Linked DNA regions of Homo sapiens: region 1 is linked to region 2. The links are contacts of gene promoters, found by promoter capture Hi-C in human tissues and cell types (Jung and others, 2019). All regions are on one chromosome and are shown on one strand. Each heading gives the region's core, a stretch centred on a gene start or on the middle of the fragment in contact. The rest is flanking DNA. Distances are from core to core; before and after follow the strand shown.

What was found. The method cuts DNA at HindIII sites, captures the fragments that hold promoters and counts their contacts. A contact is called where the count stands out against the background at its distance.
Region 1: a contact is called between a fragment that was not itself captured here and the fragment with the promoter of NMUR1 in region 2, in 7 of the 25 tissues and cell types used here (bladder, lymphoblastoid cells, mesenchymal stem cells and 4 more).

The regions. Positions count from the first base shown.
Region 1 is chr2:231,582,200-231,588,092 of GRCh38, reverse strand. It overlaps the pseudogene RPL23AP26. Among named protein-coding and RNA genes, the nearest start is that of TEX44, 7.7 kb to the left of the region's middle. RefSeq lists enhancers at 4,572-5,483, 5,484-5,893. The HindIII fragment of the contact is 4,173 bases long and covers 1-3,559 here.
Region 2 is chr2:231,527,424-231,532,841 of GRCh38, reverse strand. NMUR1 (neuromedin U receptor 1) reads left to right here and starts at 2,397. Exons shown (of 3, transcript NM_006056.5): 1 at 2,397-2,483; 2 at 3,825-4,719. The coding sequence starts at 2,481. It overlaps LOC105376787 (a long non-coding RNA gene), which reads right to left and starts at 672. Exons shown (of 4, transcript XR_001739928.2): 1 at 3-672. RefSeq lists enhancers at 711-1,445, 3,935-4,461, 4,462-4,989 and a silencer at 2,140-2,569. The HindIII fragment of the contact is 18,375 bases long and covers 1-5,418 here.

The DNA of each region.
Region 1 (5,893 bases), core at 224-2,723, 56 kb before region 2:
TCTTCTCTTCTCTTTTCTTTCTCTTTCTTTCCTCTTCCCCCTTCTCTCTTTTTTCTTGTTTTCTTTCAACAGGGTCTCACTATGTTGCCCAGGCTGGAGTACAGTGGTACAATCATAGCTCACTGCAGCCTTGACCTCCTGGGCTCAAGGGATCCTCCCACCTCAGCCTCTGAGTAGTTGGGACTACAGGTGTGTGCACCATGGCTGGCTGATTTTTAAATATTTTGTAGAGATGGAGTCTCACTATGTTGCCCAGGATGGTCTTGAACTTCTGGGCTCAAGCAATCTGCCTGCCTTGGCCTCCCAAAATGCTGGGATTACAAGCATGAGCCACCGCACCTGGCCATTTTCTTTCTTTCTTACTTTGTGTGTGTGTGTTGAGAATAGAAAGTTTCTGATGTCCCCTCATGTGGCCCACTAAAACCATCATGCACCTTATAGGCACCAAGGACAAACTCTGTATTTGGAATTCAGCTTTTGATTCTACATGTTGCACTTTATGTTGACCCTTGTTACATTTCATATGCTTGGGCCAGGCATGGTGGCTCACGCCTGTAATCCTAGCACTTTGGGAGGCCGAGGCGGGTGGATCACCTGAGATCAGGAGTTTGAGACCAGCCTGACCAACGTGGATAAACCCCATTTTACTAAAAATACAAAATTAGCTGGGCTTGGTGGTGCACCTGTCATTCCAGCTACTCAGGAGACTGAGGCAGGAGAATTGCTTGAACCTGGAAGGCGGAGGTTGTGGTGAGCCGAGGTTGCACCATTGCACTCCAGCCTGGGCAACAAGAGTGAAACTTCATCTCAAAAAAAAAAAAAGTTTCATATGCTTGAAAATCGTGCCCAAGGAAGGCTACAGTGGAATGAATAGGCACTGATGTCAAAGGCAGAGAGATTTATTAAAATTGGGGAACAAAAAATAAAGGATTATTTATTTGTAAATAAATATTAAATGAGATCAGTATAGAACAAAATATATTTATTCTGTTATGTGGACAATATATATTTTAGATATATTCTGTACATAAATAAAATACAAAATAAAATATATATGAAAGTTTTCTCCATCTTAGTTAAAAACTTTCCTACTTTTATTTTTTTTTTTCTGGTGAAAAGATATATATATATTTAGAATTAGCCAGCTGGACTCAGTTTAGATGATCCCTTTTTTTTTTTTTGAGATAGAGTTTCACTCTTGTTGCTCAGACTGGAGTGCAATGGCGCGATCTTGGCTCACCGTAACCTCCTCCTCCCGAGTTCAAGTGATTCTTCTGCCTCAGCCTCCCGAGTAGCTGGGATTACAGGCATGCGCCACCACGTCCAGCTAATTTTGTATTTTTAGTGGAGATGGGGTTTCTCCATGTTGGTCAGGCTGTTCTCAAACTTTTGACCTCAGGTGATCCGCCCGCCTCAGCCTCCCAAAGTGCTGGGATTACAGGCGTGAGCCACCGCGCCTGGCTTTTTTTTTGTTTTTTTTGAGACAGAGTCTTGCTCTATGGCCCAGGCTGGAGTGCAGTGATGTGATCTCAGCTCACTGAAACCTCTGCCTCCTGGGTTCAAGTGATTCTTCTGTTTTAGCCTCCTGAGTAGCTGGGACTACAGGAGCGCACCACCACACCTGGCTTATTTTCTTGTATTTTTAATAGAGACAGGGTTTTGCCATGTCGGCCAGGCTGGTCTCAAACTCCTGACCTCAGGTGATCCACTCTCCTCGGCCTCCCGAAGTGCTGGGATTATAGGTGTGAGCCACCGTGCCCAACCACATGATCTCATTTTTGTTGGCAACATCCAAAGCATCATAATCAGCAGCCAGTTGAACATATGCCTTCTTCTCTCCATCAGGCCTATTCAGGGTGTTGACCACTGCCACGTCGATGTCATAGAGCTTCTTCACAGCCTGTTTGATCTGGTGCTTGTTGGCTTTAACATCCACAATGAACACAGTGTGTTGTTGTCGTCTGTCTTCTTCGTGGCCAACTCAGTGGTCAGCGGAAACTTGATGATAACACAGTGGCCAAGCTTATTTCTCCCAGGGATGCTCTTCTGGGAATATCTGGGCCGCCTCCAGAGTCGCAGTGTCTTGGGCCGCTGGAAGGTGGGTGACGTGCAGATCTTTTTTTTGTGGCTGTGGATACCTTTCAGCTCTGCCTTCTTGGCCTTCAAAGCCTTTGCTTTGGCTTCAGCTTTAGGAGGGGCAAGAGCTTCCTTCTTTGCCTTTGGCATCATCTTGTAAAAAGAGTTCTCTACCTTTATTAAGTAGTTCTCATAAGAGGAAATTCGTCTCAAATAATTTGCCTTTGCTTTCTTTTCAATTCCTTTCTCTCTCTCTCTCTTTTTTTTTTTTTTTTTTTTTTTTTTTTTGAGATGGAGTCTCACTCTGTCACCCAGGCTGGAGTGCAGTGGCATGATCTCGGCTCACTGCAACCTCTGCCTCCCAGGTTCAAGCGATTCTCATGCCTCAGCCTCCCAAGTAGCTGGGACTACAGGCATTTGCCACCACACCTGGCTAATTTTTTTTTTTTTTGAGATGAAGTCTTACTCTTGTCCCCCAGGTTGCGGGCTGGAGTGCGGTGGCGTGAGTGATCTTGGCTCACTGCAACCTCTGCCTCCTGGGTTCAGGCAACTCTCCTGCCTCAGCCTCCCAAGTAGCTGGGATTACGGGTACCTGCCACCATGCCCGGCTAATTTTTGTATTTTTAGTTGACATGGGGTTTTGCCATGTTGGCCAGGCTGGTCTCGAACTCTTGACCTCAAGTGATCCGCCTGCCTCAGCCTCCCAAAGTGCTGGGATTTACAAGCATGAGCCACCGTGCCTGGCCCTCAACTCCTTTCTCTTGGGGAGAATGACTCTCGAATTAAATAATTAAATACTCTTATTTTAGGGTAAACTCAGTTTATGGAATATTATGAAGCTGTATAAAGCCTGTACAGAAACATGGAAAAAGATTGTTATATAATGTTACTTTAAAAAGCAGGAGGTTGGGCGTGGTGGCTCACACTTGTAGTCCCAGCACTTTGGGAGGCCAAGGCGGGAGGATTATTTGAGTCCGGGTGTTCGAGGCTACAGTGAGCTGTAATTGCACCACTGCACTCCAGCCTAGGCAACAGAGTGTGACCCCATCTCAAAAAATAAGGCTAGATATGGTGGTTCATGCCTGCAATCCCAGCATGTGGGAGGCCAAGGTGGGTGGAAGGAGACCAGCCTGGGTAACATGAAGAAACCCCATCTCTCCAACAACAACAAAATTAGCCGGACGTGGTGGTGTGCACCTGCGGTCCCAGCTCCTCTGGAGGCTGAGGTGGGAGGGAGGATCACTTCAGCCTGGGAGGTAGAGGTTGCAGTGAACTGAGATCATGCTACTGCACTCTAGCCTGGGTAACATTTATTACTGCGTCAATAAATAAATAGATAAATAAATAAAATTAAAATACGAAAATAAAAAAATTAGGACCAGGTGTGGTGGCATGCACCCATAGTCCCAGCTACTCAGAAGGCTGAGGCAGGAGGATCACTTGACCTGGGAGGTTGAGGCTGCAGAGAGCTAGGATAGCACCAATGCACTCTAGCCTGGGAAACAGGGTGAGAACCTGTCTCAAAAAATAAAATATTTTAAAAAGCAGGATGCAATATTTTATGCACACTATGTGTATTTATTTGCCCATACTCTTTCAGCTGGAAGCTATAGAAACCCAAATCAAATTGACTTCTGCAAAAATAACAAAAATCAAGAAATTTCTTGGCTCACAGGAACCTGTAAAGCCTGGAGGAAAGGGTCTACACAGCAGGTGCTCATGACGCTGTCAGGGATTCGGTTCTTTCTCTTCTCTTTGCTCCCTTTGTCATTGATGGCTAGATTTTCAGGGGGATTTCCTCCATGCGGAGGCTGCTAGCGCTCCAGGCATCCTTCCTAACAGCTCAGGCCAGTTCAAAGAGATGCTGGTCCCCTGCGGTTTCGGCAAATCTCGGGACAGGATCGTGGGCTCCTGGCGTGTCTCAGAAGCAATTACTACAGCATCCTGATTGCTCAGGCCTGGGTCATGCAACCACTCCTGATGTGGTTGCGGGGGGGGTGCGGCCCCACCCTAACATAAGGCCTGTGGAAGGTAGTGGAATCATTCCCAGGAGGAAAACTGGGGTGCTGTTACCAAAAGAAGGTGAACTGTGAACTGGATGCTGGGCTGGAAACATAAACTCCACTAAATGATAATGACAGACATGTGCAAGAAAGGCTGTTTATTGGGGGAAAGCCTGGCAGGAAATAGAGCAAAATGTCCGGAAGAAGTTCTGATTATTGTTAACAAAATCAGAAAACAGGGCCGGGCGCGGTGGCTCATGCCTGTAATCCCAGCACTTTGGGAGGCCGAGGTGGGTGGATCACTTGAGGTCAGGAGTTCAAGACCAGCCTGGCCAACCTGGTGAAACCCCGTCCCTACTAAAAATACAAAAATTGGCTGGTGTGGTGGTGGGCGCCTGTAATCCCAGCAACTCGGGAGGCTGAGGCACGAGAATGGCTTGAACCTGGGAGGCAAAGTTTGCAGTGAGCCGAGATCGCACCACCGCACTCCAGCCTGGGCAACAGAGTGAGACTCTGTCTCAAAAAAAAAAAAAAAAAAAAAAAAAATCAGAAGACACATAGAAGCAAAAATGACTACCTATAAATAAAAATTTAAATCACCCTAAGAAATATGGTGGACTGAGTGAGTGGGAAGCCTGCTATCTCAGTGCACACACACATACCCCCTCACACACATTCTCACTCTCTTCAAACACACAGAAATGCTGGATAAAATGTGGTCCACAGTAGGTTAAATACCTAGCTGAGCTAGAAAGAATGGGAGACCCCCATGTTCCAGAAGGGTGGACTTAGACAGGGGTGTCCCTGTGAAGACAGAGCCATGGCCTCAGGGTGCCATCCAGATTGCCGTGTGTGGAGCATTTAGCAAACAAGCGGGGCCCTGGGTGGGCTGGCTGAGAGGGGAGAGTCCACTTCGAGAATCCAGCGAGGTGCTGCCCACCAAACTGGAGAGGGGCAAGGCTGTCCTCTCAGTCCAGGCCCTGAGTGGGGCTGAAAGCCTAAGACAGTGGAAGGAAGCTTCTGCTTGTCGTGCAGACGCTGGTGGAAGCAGCTGCCCTCTTAGAACCACGGACCTACTGGGGACACCCAGCAAAGTCCCCAGCCCCACAGAGCTGTGCGTGGTGTGTGTTGCAGTCGGCTGGCGGCCGGTGATTGTGCATCTCTGTGCCCAACTTGGAGTTCAGTGTCGTCAGCTTTGGTGGAATTATTTTCACCACTGAAAGTGGCTACAAATCAGGGCTGTTCCCCCACAACGAATCACGGTTTCCCCGCACAGCATTGAGTCTGATTATGCTCTTTCTCCCAGTGGGGTGGCTGTTTGCTCTGCCCTCTGAAGGGGGCAACCCTCAGGGTTCCCTGTGGAGGAGGACCACACCCCACGACTCCCCAGAGTCCCACAGAGCAAGGCATTCTAGTTTTGTGGCTAACATGTGGCCTTTGGAGCTGGCTGTCTGGGTTCAAATCCTGTCTTTGCTATAGCTAGCTGTGTAATGTAAGGCAAGTTACTTAACACCTCTGTGCCTCAGTTCCCCTAACTGTAAAATGGATATAATAATAGTCCTTACCTTTGGTGTAATACAAAGTATATATTTGGTCTTTGTCCCAGGTCCCTGGCACAGAACTCCAAAAACCTTTGAAATTTCTTTTTATTTTTTGAGACAGAGTCTCGCTTTGCTGCCCAGACTGCAGTGCAGTGGTGCAATCTCGGCTCACTGCAGCCTCCGCCTCCCCGGCCCAGGCTGGTCTTGAACTCCAGGCTTCCAGTAATCTGCCCATTTCGGCCTCCCAAAGTGCTGAGACAGGCCAACGCACCC
Region 2 (5,418 bases), core at 1,148-3,647:
ACATGCCTCTGGCCCCATGAGTCCTGCACACGCCTGGGACTTGGGTGGTATCTCAGCAGCTCCTGGAGGTCCCAGTGGCCCTCCCTGAATGCATTTGCTGTTGTGCAGAGTTGGGTCCTTGGCCCCCTCATCTGGGCAGACGCCCACCAGCCAAGCTTAGATGGATGTGTACACCCAGAAAACTGGGGGGTGCCACCTCAGGACGGAGCAGGAGCAGCAGGATGTCATACGTTTCTGATGGGACACTACCGTGGTGGCCTTGAGCTCAGGCCCGGAGGCCAGGGCCCCTAGGGCCCTCTGCACAGTGCGGAAGTGAGGGCCACAGCCATTGTGGCCACTGAGCCTCTCCTTTTTGGGGGCTGCTCTTTAGCCTTTGATGGCTGCTAATGTTATGTGAATGATGCAACCCGCTGTAGGAATTCCTGACTGGCAAGAGTCATTCTGCCTCTGCAAGGCTAGGTGGGTCCTTCCCCATCCCCTCCAGGGCTGTGTGAACCAAAGGGTCCACGGGGACTTTCGGACTGCTCAGAGTCTGTGCAGAGTGGTATGTGTGTGCGCGTGTGTGTGGTGTGGTATGTGCAGAGTGATGTGTGCATGCATGTGTGTGTATGTGTGTGTACATGCATGTGCGTGTGTGTGTGTGTTCCAGTGAAGGGCTGGGGTCCAAATGCTCCTCACTTGCTAAGAGCAGCCTGTGATGCCACAGTGGTCTCTGATGCTGAGTGATGTCATCCCTCCTTGCCCGTCTGTTGTGCTGGCAGCCCTGTTACTGAGGATTTCTCCTGGACTAGCTCATCAGGGGCTGAGTAGTTAATTCCCAGGGCACCACAGAATCCTTTCTCCCAAGGCCCTGAGGACCACGTGCCCCTGCACTTCCCACAACCGTCCCCTGCCTGGGACTCTGTTTACATGTGGAGTTCCTGGGAAGGCCGGCCTGGTGCAGGCTCCTTGAGGGCCTAACTCCCATCCCCAAGCCCAGACAGTGACTTATGGAATTGGGGGGCAGTGGGGAGGAGGAGGGTGCAGGAAAGCGGGGGGAAGGAGGAGCCTCCAGTTGCCACTAAATGGTGACAATCCCACCCCACATTTCTTGAGTGTTGGCCATGTGCCAGCCCCTGTGCTGAATCTTGACGCTCAGTGTCTCATGTCACCTTCACAATAGTGGCGATGGTGGTTAGCCCATTCTACAGGAAGGGGAACTGAGGCACACAGAGCTTCTGAGCTCACGGTGGCCTCTCGGGGTCCTGTGGCTTTGTAACCTCTCCTGGTGCTCCTCAGTGTGATTCTGGGGCATGGGGCTCTCCAGAGGGCGTTTGTCAAACATGAGGATTTCTGGGCCTTGCCCAGGCTAAGGAGACAAAACTCTGGGCAAAGGCCCCGGAACCAGCATTTTACTCTGTGTGATCCGTCATTTCTAGGGTCCCTAGAAGTTTCTGATGAAACAGCTTCCAGCTAAGGAGCTGATTGCAGGACTAGGGAGTGGGAGCAGGTGAGGCACTGGGATTTGCATGTGGGCAGTGTGGGGGAGCAGGAGGCTGTGGCTGGGCATTCTTAACCCTTCCCTAAATTCCCTCCATCCTTGTCTATACCCCCACCCTTGGTACAGTGATGGGGGCAGAAGAACATTTGAACGGATAAGGGGGACAGTATTTGGGGCTGAGGACAATGGTGAGGAGAGGGTGGCCCAGGGAGGCAGGTGAGGAGTGGGGAGGTCCACCCCCAGGCTAGACTTTGGTGTGCTCTTTTTCAGAAGGCAGTGGGGGGGCCCCAAGGAAGGGTTTCGAGGGGGTGATGGTCGTTGGTGGCTGTGGGAGGATGGACTGGAGGGAGAATAGGGGGCTCTTGCCCAGTCCTGCAGGGCCGAGCGCCTGGACTCAGGGACTGGAGGCCCCGAAGGGAGCAGCGGGTGAGAGGGGCTGCGGAGGCTGCAATCATGGGCCTTGGGACAGAAGAAGAGGCCTGGAGCCTGGGAGGATGAACCGCACCGGGGCATGTCGACTTCAAGGGGCTGGTGGGCCGTCCCTGTCCTTGGAGGTGGGTCTGAATGGGGGGCAGGAGGAGCTGGAGGCCGCAGGGACACCGTGACGGCGTTAAGCTAAACTCAGCACGCTGGAGGGCGGGAATCACATGTGAGCCCCAGGTCTCTCGGGCTCCTCCTCTGCGGCTCTCTGAGGCTCAGTTTTCTCATCTGTAAAACGGGTTGTTGTGAGGGTTCCGTCAGATAACGCTGCTTGTGGAGGTGTCGCCTCCACGCTGCTTGTGGAGGTGTCGCCTCCAACGGCCGCGTCCTCCGCCAGTGCGGGAGGGGGCGCCGCCCGGGCTGCGGGGACTGCACTGCCCCCTGGCGGCGTTCCCGGCCGGACAGGCGGGGCGTCGGGGCGCGGGCTGGGGCCGCTGTCAGTCAGTCCACTGGCTCCCGCGCCGCGTCTGTGTCCGTCGCTCGGAGGGTGGAAGCCGGGGTCTCGCGGGCCGCGGGCCGCATGGTAGGTGCGCAGGCGCCGGCGTGGGCTAGGGCGCGGCAGCTGGGCCGGGGCTCGGTGCGGGCAGGGTCGTCCTAGGGCGGGAAGGGTCCGAGGGCTCCGTCGGGGTGCCCCCCGTCCCCGCCACCGGGGAGCCTCGCAACTTCTCGGGTCATTTGTGTCTTCCGGCCAGGGGCGCCGGGGGGCTGCGGGCTTGCGACCCTTCCTCGAGGACCAGGGCGCCTCCCTTGAACCCGGGCTGGCGCCTGCGCGTTCCCAACTGGTTCCCGAGGCTCCCGCGCTGCTGTGCAGCGGGGGTGAGGGCGGGCGGGAGGAAGGGTGTGGGGCTCAATAGAGGAGAGGGAACCCCAGAACTGGCAGTGCCAAGGGCGTCAAATATGGAGACTGAACAGTTCAGGTGACAGAAAACAGAAAAAAGAATCAACTTGTGGATGAAGCATTTGTAGTGTGTAGCCTTGACACTCCCTCACTTGACTCTCATAGTGACTGGGTCCCCAGAGCAAGGGGGTGATCCCCGTGCCCTTCCGTATGCCAGGCAGGCCCTGTGTTAATGTCTTTAATGGATTAAACTCCCTGGATCCTCCTAATAGGGAAACAGCCTCAGAGAGGTTACCTCGCTAAAGGTCACACAGCCTGGAACTGGGGAGGCTGGATTCGAATCCAGGCAGTTGCTTCCTGAGCGCTTGCTCTTGAAGACCCTGCAATACCAGGCATTGTGCCCATTTTACAGATGCCCAAACGAGTGCCTCATCTAGCATCATTGCTTGAAAGAGGAGACACCCAAGATCTGTCATTTACTCAAAGGTTCCAATAGATCATGAAATTTAAAATCAAAACCCCACGTGTTTTTTTTTTTTTAAATGTAGATTTTTACTTTTTCGTTGTTTGCTTTTTGTTTTTTTGAGACAAGGTCTTTCTCTGTTGCCCAGGCTGGAGTCCGGTGGCACAATCTCCGCTCACTGCAACCTCTGTCTCCTGGGTTCAAACAATTCTCCCGCCTCAGCCTCCCAAGTAGCTGGAATTACAGGCGTGTGCTACCACGCCCGGCTACTTTTTGTATTGTTAGTAGAGACGGGGTTTCACCATATTGGCCAGGCTGGTCTTGAACTCCTGATCTCAAGTGATCCGCCTGCCTCGACCAAAGTGTTGGGATTACAGGTGTGAGCCACTGCACCAAGCTTATTTTTACATCTCTGACTTGTGGATGGAAGAGTTTTTTCTTTCTCAGTGGTGCCTAAAATAATGGTCATCATAGCGCTAATGTCACCTTTGGCTTGATGAGTGAGGACAGAGCCAGCATTCCCTGAATGATCTTTCTGGGCATCTCTCCCCTCTGTTCCACAGACTCCTCTCTGCCTCAATTGCTCTGTCCTCCCTGGAGACCTGTACCCAGGGGGTGCAAGGAACCCCATGGCTTGCAATGGCAGTGCGGCCAGGGGGCACTTTGACCCTGAGGACTTGAACCTGACTGACGAGGCACTGAGACTCAAGTACCTGGGGCCCCAGCAGACAGAGCTGTTCATGCCCATCTGTGCCACATACCTGCTGATCTTCGTGGTGGGCGCTGTGGGCAATGGGCTGACCTGTCTGGTCATCCTGCGCCACAAGGCCATGCGCACGCCTACCAACTACTACCTCTTCAGCCTGGCCGTGTCGGACCTGCTGGTGCTGCTGGTGGGCCTGCCCCTGGAGCTCTATGAGATGTGGCACAACTACCCCTTCCTGCTGGGCGTTGGTGGCTGCTATTTCCGCACGCTACTGTTTGAGATGGTCTGCCTGGCCTCAGTGCTCAACGTCACTGCCCTGAGCGTGGAACGCTATGTGGCCGTGGTGCACCCACTCCAGGCCAGGTCCATGGTGACGCGGGCCCATGTGCGCCGAGTGCTTGGGGCCGTCTGGGGTCTTGCCATGCTCTGCTCCCTGCCCAACACCAGCCTGCACGGCATCCGGCAGCTGCACGTGCCCTGCCGGGGCCCAGTGCCAGACTCAGCTGTTTGCATGCTGGTCCGCCCACGGGCCCTCTACAACATGGTAGTGCAGACCACCGCGCTGCTCTTCTTCTGCCTGCCCATGGCCATCATGAGCGTGCTCTACCTGCTCATTGGGCTGCGACTGCGGCGGGAGAGGCTGCTGCTCATGCAGGAGGCCAAGGGCAGGGGCTCTGCAGCAGCCAGGTCCAGATACACCTGCAGGCTCCAGCAGCACGATCGGGGCCGGAGACAAGTGACCAAGATGCTGTGTAAGTGTCACGGCTGGGAAGAGGGGCTGAGCCAGGCACTGGGTATGAGTTTGGGGCTCCTGGGGCCTGGGAGAAGGGGCTGAGTATCTGGGTTTATGGGGGACGAGGAACTCCTCTAGTCTCGTGTGTGTGTGTGTGTGTGTGTGTGTCTGAGTTGCACTCCTGTGTACTCTTTTAGATTACCCTACTAGAATCTTACACCAAAAATACCTGTTAATGGCTAACGGTAAGATTGTGTAATTTGTGGAGTCCAGTGCAACATGAAAATTCAGGGTCCCTTTTTCAAAAATGAATAAGAATGTCAAGACAGCAACAACAGAGCATTAAACCAAGCCCAGGACCCTGCTAAACTTGGGGCCCTGGCTCTGGAACCAAAACACAGAAAGGGCAGGGCATGTGGTTGGGCTCCAGGATGACAGAAAATGGGATCTGGACCCTCCAGGTCTCAGGTCTCTCCTCTTCTTTTTTTTTTTTTTTTTTTTTTTGAGACAGGGTCTTGCTCTGTCACTCAGGCTGTGGTGTGACCACGGCTCACTGCAGCCTCAACCTCCCAGGCTCAAGCGATCCTCCTACCTCACTCAGCCTCCTAAGTAGCTGGGGCTACAGGCAGGTGCCACCATGCCCAGCTAATTTTTTCATTTTTGTAGAGACGGGGTCTCACTATGTTGCCAGAGCGGATCTTGAACTCCTGGTCTCAAG